Regions from separate parts of the Homo sapiens genome. Here region 2 is linked to region 1. Evidence: promoter capture Hi-C in 16 types of primary human blood cells and fetal thymus (Javierre and others, 2016). All regions are on one chromosome and are shown on one strand. Each heading gives the region's core, a stretch centred on a gene start or on the middle of the fragment in contact. The rest is flanking DNA. Distances are from core to core; before and after follow the strand shown.

What was found. The method cuts DNA at HindIII sites, captures the fragments that hold promoters and counts their contacts. A CHiCAGO score of 5 or more calls a contact.
Region 2: a fragment that was not itself captured here is called in contact with the fragment with the promoter of JAG2 in region 1 in 1 of 17 cell types (endothelial precursors); the score reaches 5.0 in endothelial precursors.

The regions. Positions count from the first base shown.
Region 1 is chr14:105,167,057-105,171,571 of GRCh38, reverse strand. JAG2 (jagged canonical Notch ligand 2) reads left to right here and starts at 2,796. Exons shown (of 26, transcript NM_002226.5): 1 at 2,796-3,217; 2 at 3,465-3,815. The coding sequence starts at 3,152. RefSeq lists enhancers at 90-926, 3,575-4,074. The HindIII fragment of the contact is 17,945 bases long and covers 1-4,515 here.
Region 2 is chr14:105,129,611-105,133,562 of GRCh38, reverse strand. No RefSeq gene overlaps it. Among named protein-coding and RNA genes, the nearest start is that of MIR6765, 19 kb to the left of the region's middle. The HindIII fragment of the contact is 3,206 bases long and covers 1,079-3,952 here.

The sequences.
Region 1 (4,515 bases), core at 1,547-4,046:
ATGAGGCCCCAGCAGGACATTCACAGGACAGGAGCTCTGCCTGACCCACAGCAGCCTTGCTGTGCTGCCCTTACCAGCAGCCTGCCTGGTGACACCACGAGAGTGCGATGGGCCCTCCGGGTTGACCAGCAGAGGCCTCCCACTACCTCAGAGGGACCTCTCGCAGGCACCAGGTGGGTCTGGCCCCTGAAGCACTGAGGGGACAGGTGACAGGGCACCCGGACCTGGGTGTAGTCCAGCCCCTCACTTTGCTCCGCAGCCCGATGGGGTGGGTCAGCAGGCAGTGCTGCCGGGCCTAATGGAGCTGGCATTGATTTCCCGGCACTGGAGGGGGGGTTGTAACCGGAAACTCCCCTCCCCGTCTGCTATATTTAGCACTGCAGGACCCAGCGGAAGCACAGCTTACTCTGGAGCCTCGCCGGCTCTGTCCAAACCCCTGGCAGCCCGTCCTCAGCCTGGTCCCCAGGACTGCCCTATGGGCCCAGAGCCCCTGGCCAGGCTGAGCAGCTGCACCCTTGCCCTCTGCATACAAGCTGGGCACCGCCCAGCGCTCAGAGTGGGAGCCCTCCAGGCTGGGGGACGGGTGGCTCTGGGAGGCTGGAGGGTGCTGTGGTCCAGTGGGCCCCAGAACAATGACGAGGTCCCTTACTAGAAGAGACCAGGTAGCCTGGTCTGGTGAGGGTTGGGGCTGGAGCCCTGGCCGCCACTGATCTCAGCCCCTCACCCCAGCAAGGTGCAGCAGGGGGCAAATGTGTTTTGTGAAATATGTATGAGGGGCGAGGGTTCCCACTGCTGCCTTCTGGAAACTCAAACCAGGGTCCAGCTGCCTGGCATTTCTGGCTCAAGGGCTGCTGAAATTCCTGCAGGGAAGGGACCCCCTCTCCGATGCCTCCTATGTCCCCCTCCTTCCTAAGGGCAGGTGCGGCCACCTTCCTGACCTGGGTGCTCTCATGGACATCGTGAGGTCTGGCTGACCCATGCCCGTCCACGCTCTGGCGGCCCCCTATGCCAGCTTCTGTATGACTTGTCTAAGTCCTCTGTCCACCCCCGGGCTGGGGGCTCCTGAGGGTGTGCAGGGGCGGAGTCTCCCTTGTTCACCACTTGGCCAAGTGCCCAGCAGAGGCACCCAGCACCCCCTCCCCCACCATAGTGGGGCAGTGGGCGCAGGTGGGGATGGAGCCCTGGGCCTCTGGAGCCGGGCAGGGGGCTTCTCTGTCCTGGGGCTTCCCTCTCTCGAGTACCCGAGTACCTGCCCCCAGGCCAAAGCACAGGAGAGGTGGCATCTCCACAGGGAGCCCCTCCCCCCGTAGGCGGTAATCACCGCCCACACACCGGAAGGCGGCAACTGGAAGGCTCTGAACACAGCTTGGATTCTCTTGTTTGGTGGGGGTCTCTGTGCGGGCCTCATCCTGGCTTGTGTCTTAATCCCCACGAAGCCTACCCACCACCAAGTTTGGGGTGGGCACTCTGAGCAGAGCCAGCTGAGGTGGGCATGGGGGGCTCCCACCCACCCCTTTAGGGACCTTCAGCTGAGCCTGCGGCCTGGATCCTGGAGGAGCTGCTAAACAGGGATGGAGCAGGCAGACCCTGCGCATGGGGTGTTCACAGGCCCTGTGCCTCCAAAGCTCTCTTCCTTCAGCCCTCAGCCCCAGCAGCATGGTGGCAGTGACTTGCTCCAGGCTGGGGGGCTGCACAGCCACCCAGCTCCGGGCACAGGGCAAATTTGCGAGAGGAGCTAGGGGGAGAGAAGACAGCTCAGTTATCATGGGGATGGGTTGAGGACCCCTCTGGACCATATGGGGATCTTTAACCACCAAGGTGACCCCTAGCTCTGGAAAGGACCGTGCTCACTGGAGGAGAGGAAGGTGCCATTGGTTTTGACCCTGTGGAGGAGCTGCGAGGTCACCCAGGGAGAGGGCAAGGAGGTGACCGCAGAGGATGGGGTGTGGAAGCCTGGTGACCAGGGCAGCAGTGGGAGGCCTCTCTCGGGGTAGCCTTCAGGGACAGGCACTGCCGACTTTTGTTCCCCATTTCCCGCCTCTCGCCCCCCAAGCCCAGACCTGAGTTTGGGGGGCGAGAGGCGGGAAACGGGGAATGTGGCCTGAGCATTTCCTGAGGGCATGGCCTGGCTACCTCGACGCCAGCGCCGAGCTGAGCAGTCTGCACCCTGGAGCATTTGTTGACTGGCTGCTTGACCAGCGCGCCTCGCAGAGGGGAAGGCAGGGGCGTCGGAGGGGCGCAGCGCCCCCTGCAGCCGGCGTGGAGGCGGTAGGAGCGGCGCGGAGAAGGGGAGATTCTCGGAGGAGGTGGGGGGCGCGCAGTAGGGGCTGGGCCCGGCTCTGGCCCCAGGGCCGCGCCACCCCGCGTGGGGGCCGAGCCCTGATCAGAGTAGGAGGCGGCATCTCCTCTGGGACTGCGAGGAGCGCGGCGGTGGCGCACTGATGGGAGGGGACCACACGGCAACCTCGGGGCGCCCCACCCCCGGTTTCTGACACCCGGCAGGAGCCCAGGCGGAGGAGGGGAGGCAGCTTTGCGGCGCCGGCGCACGCCTCGCCGACTCACGCGGAGGTGTGAGCGGGGCCCCCGCGGCCCGCGCTGACCCCGAGGCCCCGTGCCCCCGCCGCCCGGGCGCCCTGGGGGGCGCGCGCCGGGCCGGGGCGCTGGCAGGCGACGCCCTCCACCGCCTTTAAAGCCTGGGGCGCCCCCGGACCCCCCCCCGGCCCCACCCCGCGGCGCGGCCCCGCCCCCTCATGCATATGCAGGTGCGCGGGTGACGAATGGGCGAGCGAGCTGTCAGTCTCGTTCCGAACTTGTTGGCTGCGGTGCCGGGAGCGCGGGCGCGCAGAGCCGAGGCCGGGACCCGCTGCCTTCACCGCCGCCGCCGTCGCCGCCGGGTGGGAGCCGGGCCGGGCAGCCGGAGCGCGGCCGCCAGCGAGCCGGAGCTGCCGCCGCCCCTGCACGCCCGCCGCCCAGGCCCGCGCGCCGCGGCGCTGCGCTCGACCCCGCCCGCGCCGCCGCCGCCGCCGCCTCTGCCGCTGCCGCTGCCTCTGCGGGCGCTCGGAGGGCGGGCGGGCGCTGGGAGGCCGGCGCGGCGGCTGGGAGCCGGGCGCGGGCGGCGGCGGCGGGGCCGGGCGGGCGGGTCGCGGGGGCAATGCGGGCGCAGGGCCGGGGGCGCCTTCCCCGGCGGCTGCTGCTGCTGCTGGCGCTCTGGGTGCAGGTGAGCGGGGCGGCGGGGGCGGCGGGGGTCGCGGACGGGGCACACCGGGCCGCCCCTAGGGGCCGGGCGGGCACTGCCTGGGGCCGCCGTGGTTCGGAAGCCCTCGAGGCTGCGCGCGGCGGCTGGGGCTCCGGGCGGGCGCGGCTGGGTGGGGGCGGGGCGGCGGGGCCTGTTCCCCCACCCCTGGCGCCCGGCCCGCCGACCCCGGCCCGCGCCTCCCTCCGCTCTCCCGCTGCCTTATTTTTAGGCGGCGCGGCCCATGGGCTATTTCGAGCTGCAGCTGAGCGCGCTGCGGAACGTGAACGGGGAGCTGCTGAGCGGCGCCTGCTGTGACGGCGACGGCCGGACAACGCGCGCGGGGGGCTGCGGCCACGACGAGTGCGACACGTACGTGCGCGTGTGCCTTAAGGAGTACCAGGCCAAGGTGACGCCCACGGGGCCCTGCAGCTACGGCCACGGCGCCACGCCCGTGCTGGGCGGCAACTCCTTCTACCTGCCGCCGGCGGGCGCTGCGGGGGACCGAGCGCGGGCGCGGGCCCGGGCCGGCGGCGACCAGGACCCGGGCCTCGTCGTCATCCCCTTCCAGTTCGCCTGGCCGGTACGTGCGCTCCATCCCTCGTGCTCCAGCCCTTCCCTCTCTCTCCGCGCCCCGGCCCCGCGCGCTTCGCGACCCCCAACACCTGCGGCCGGGTCTGCGTGCGAGCCGCGCGCGCCCAGGCGGGGCGGGGCCGGCAGGGGGCGCGTGCTCTGGGGACTTGGTCCGCGCCTGGCCACGTGGGCGCGCCGGGGCCCCGGGGCCACCGGGAGCGGGGTCGCGGCGGGGGCGGGGCGGCGGCGTCCCGCGTGCGCGGCGGTGTGCGGCGTGTGCCTGCGTCGCCCTGCGCGTGTCTGTCTGGGTGGGGAGGCGAGGCGAGGCGCCCCGGTCCCGGGCAGGCCGCGGTGGCATGTGCGCAGCGCGTGCTGGGGCTGGTCTAGGGCAGGCCCTGACTGAGCCGCCCCGGGCCCGTGGCCAGCCTGCGCCTGCCCTGCAGTTTCCTGGATGCCTGGGGGGCACGGGCGGGCGCCGTGGGACCTAGGCCCGGGAGAGCCTAACGCCTAACGCTTATGTCGGCAGAAGCCCCCGATGGTGACCCAAGATCGTTCAGAGACAGAGATAGTGGATCCTGGTGCAGTGACCTTCTGTGGCACTGCCCTGTTTGTGGGTTTTTTTGGTTTTGTTATTCTGGAGGGGCAGAAGCTGAGTCGGGGCTGTCTGGTCTCCCCTGGCAGGTGGCCAGTCAGGCAGGAGCCCTGGCCTG
Region 2 (3,952 bases), core at 1,432-3,931, 38 kb after region 1:
GGGCATTTGTACTTAATCTGACACAGGAAGAATGCGTCCAGGGTAATCAGTGTACACTACATTCTAGGAGAGTGTAAACAAGAAAACTAGTAACTTGAACGGGGGAATACATGGCTCTTAGAAACGGCGTGGGAAGTATCCTGGTTACACTGAACAATTCAGACATATTAAGAAAAGCCAACCAGGCACAGTGGCTCACACTGTAATTCTAACACTTTAGGAAGCTGAGGTAGGAGGATCCCTTGAGGCCAGGAGTTTGAAACTAATCTGATCAATATAGCAAGACCCTATCTGCACACACACACACACACACACACACACACACACAGAAAAAGAAAAGCCAAATGTGATCAAGCCACTGCACTCCAGCCTGGTGACAAAGTGAGACCATGTCTGAAAAAGAAAGGAAACAAAAAGAAAAGCCAACAGCACAGAATCCAGTTATACTAGAGGAAACATTGCTTTCTAAACTGTGAAGATAAGCACTTAAGCATCAGACCACAATAGCAAAGTTAGAACAGGAGTTGATGAAAAGATTGAAGGAGAGAGTTATAATCCCAGCCAAACAAAAAGATACACCTTTTCAAGGGAAAAGGAACAGAAGGCAATGATACATGGCTGCAGATCACATGGCAAAAGTTGAACTTCTGATATGTAAATTTGAGAAGTTTAAGAAAAGAAACAGATAAGAATCAAAACCTCTTATAATTTTACTAAGAGCAAATCAAGACTTTAAGAAAACTTTGTTCTAATACAGGGAACCAATTTTTAGTTTTGTAGTAGTGTATTTTTAATATCAAAACTCAAACCTTAGAAAGATTGTTATAAATAATTATTCAAAATTATAGCTAACTTAATCACATACAAAATTCCTTTTATAAAATTTTCTTTTCATGAACCTTATCACAATTTACACAGGCCATTTAAGTTATGTGTGGACTTTTTGCTTTGTCCTATAATCAGTCATTTTCCTTTAGGACAAAAACTTCACCATACAAGATTCTTTCTCATACAAAATTATTCTCTCTCTCTTTTTTAAACTTTTCTTACCAAAAATATAACTTCATATCCGTAAGCTTCTTTACATCTCTCCCTCCTACTTGCTGGCTTCTTTTAATTTTGTTTCATATTTTTAAAAACCTGAAAATTAGACAAAAATTATTTTTTCTTAATAAATAACATATTTTTATGCCTTTTAAATAATTTTTAAATTAAAAACACATTTTAGGCACATTTATATACAGAATCATATATAAATTAGAATTTTTAACTCTTAGTAAACTTAAATTTAGTAAAAACCTAGGAAGCCAGAAATCTTGAATTGTCTGTCACATATTAGAATTTTATTGATGAGAACCATATTATAATTTTATTTTTGAGATGGAGTCTCGCTCTATCACCCAGGCTGGAGTGCAGTGGCATGATCTCGGCTCACTGCAACCTCCTTCTCCCAGGTTCAAGTGATTCTCCCACCTCAGCCTCCCAAACAGCTGGGACTACAGGTGTATGCCACCATGCCCAGCTAATTTTTGTATTTTTGTAGTGATGGGGTTTTGCCATGTCAGCCAGGCTGGTCTTGAACTCCTGACCTCAGGTGATCTGCCCGCCTCAGCCTCCCAAAGTACTGAGATTTCAGGCATGAGCCACCATGCACAGCTTATATTATAATTTTTAGAAACATGTAACATAATTTTTCTTAGTTGGAAATGGAGACATTTAATTTAAGATTTCAAACATGAAAAGTTTATTTATAGGCATTTATCCCATTGACATTTACTTATTTAGTAAATTGCTTTTCTAGACCCTCAAGATAAGGTCTTTGGCTAGATTAATTATAAAAACTGAGATATTAGACAAAGTGAATCATCATTTTATAAGTTATTTTCCTGCTAACCATTTTTACAGCCTGTGAATATTAGGTGTTCACCTAAGTAAGAACATTAAAGTTAAATATATATGGCTATTTTTCTGATAACTCAGAAGATTTAGCTGTTTTTATTAAACCAACAATATGAAATAATTTTTCTTATAAAAAATTACATAAAGATCATTCTGTTTCTGGCTGGGTTTATAGTTTTATAGCCTTCATGCTAAACCCTGACATCTTAAATATTTATTAGCTCATATAAACCTGTCTGACCACTCAACCCAGGCAAAAACATATGCTGACAATTCCGAAGACATTTCTATCTTTTATTTTACCACTAATTTCAAACCCATCTTATTTCTTAGAGATTTACTTAAGTCAGATGAACTTCAAAAATATTTGGGCTTACTAATTTATGAGCACTCATTTATTTATAAGTCATTTGGTACTACGTAGACACAACATATAATAAATGTACATATTTGTAAACACATCAAACACATACACACACACAAATGTCTTACAGCTTTCATTTTAGAATTTTAGTCATGAGACATTAATAAGAAACTCACTGGTTTATAAAAGATGTTTGGATCCAAGTTACACTTTTTTTTTTTTTTTTTTGAGACAGACTCTCTCGCTCTTCTTGCCCAGGCTGGAGTGCAGTGGCACAATCTTGGCTCACTGCAACCTCCACCTCCCAGGTTCAAGCGAATCTTGTGCCTCAGCCTCCCGAGTAGCTGGGATTACAGGTACCCACCACCACGCCCAGCTAATATTTGTATCTTTAGTGAGGATGGGGTTTCACTAGGTTGGTCAGGCTGGTCTTGAACTCCTTACCTCAAGTGATCTACCCGCCTTGGCCTTCCAAAGTGCTGGGATTACAGGTGTGAGCCACCACGCCTGGCCCCAAGTTACATTTCTGACAAAATTGGGACATGTTCACGTGGCTAAACTTTATTTGCTTTAATGAGTAATGTAATGAAGGCTGTGAACCCAAATTTTGGGTAAAGCAGTTTCCATGGCAGTTTGATTTTTAACACCCCTTTTACATTTTTTTTTTTTTAGTTTTACATGAGTTTAGGGTTAAAAATTCAGTGTCTACATTTTAGTTAGAACTGGCTGAATTCTGTAAGAAAAACAAAATCTCCAGGTAGTCTTGAACTAGTAACACCATAAACAATGAGTTTTATCTGGAAAGCACTAGAAAAGTCAGTAGATTCAGGCTGGGCATGGTGGCTCACGCCTGTAATTCCAGCACTTTGGGAGGCCAAGGTGGGCGGATCACGAGGTCAGGAGATCGAGACCAACCTGGCTAACACAGTGAAATCCCGTCTCTACTAAAAAAATAGAAAATATTAGCCAGGCATGGTGGCGGGTGCCTATAGTCCCAGCTACTCGGGAGGCTGAGGCAGGAGAACGGCGTGAACCTGGGAGGCGGAGCTTACAGTGAGCCGAGATTGTGCCACTGCACTCCAGCCTGGGCAACAGAGCGAGACTCTGTCTCAAAAAAAAAAAAAAAAAAAGAAAAGAAAAGTCAGCAGATTCAACGTATTCAGAAAGAAAAGAAAAAAAAAAGAGAGAGAACTTAGAAGACTCTACATGTTAATAACTCTAGCTGCAGATTGGTTGCTTGAGCTCTGAATTTTCTTTGATGTTATTTGTCCATCAGTTTAAACAAGTGGACAAGAATGGGCAATAGTATGTAGCTGGCTGCAGTCCCAGAAAACCTGGCATGCCTTAATGTTTGAAAATCCAATTTTTGGTCATTTCAGTGTTAAATCATTGTCTCTCTTTCTCCCTCTGGTTATCTAAAAACTTGTGGGGCCTCAGAAGAGCCGATTGTCAATTGCTTGTGACAAGGAATTTCCTATGGGACCTCTGTGCATTGCAAGGATTGCACCTCCAACACCTCCACGAGCCCTCTAATCACCGAGGGTTGCCAAATCAGAATCCAGCTGGAAGGAGCAAATATTCCCGGTCTTTGGAGTTGACTCAGGTCAAACTCTCATAGATTTTTAAGAGCTTCTGTCCTGCTGAGGTTTACTTACAGAGTCAAACGGAAAGGGGGAGCACGGGCACAAC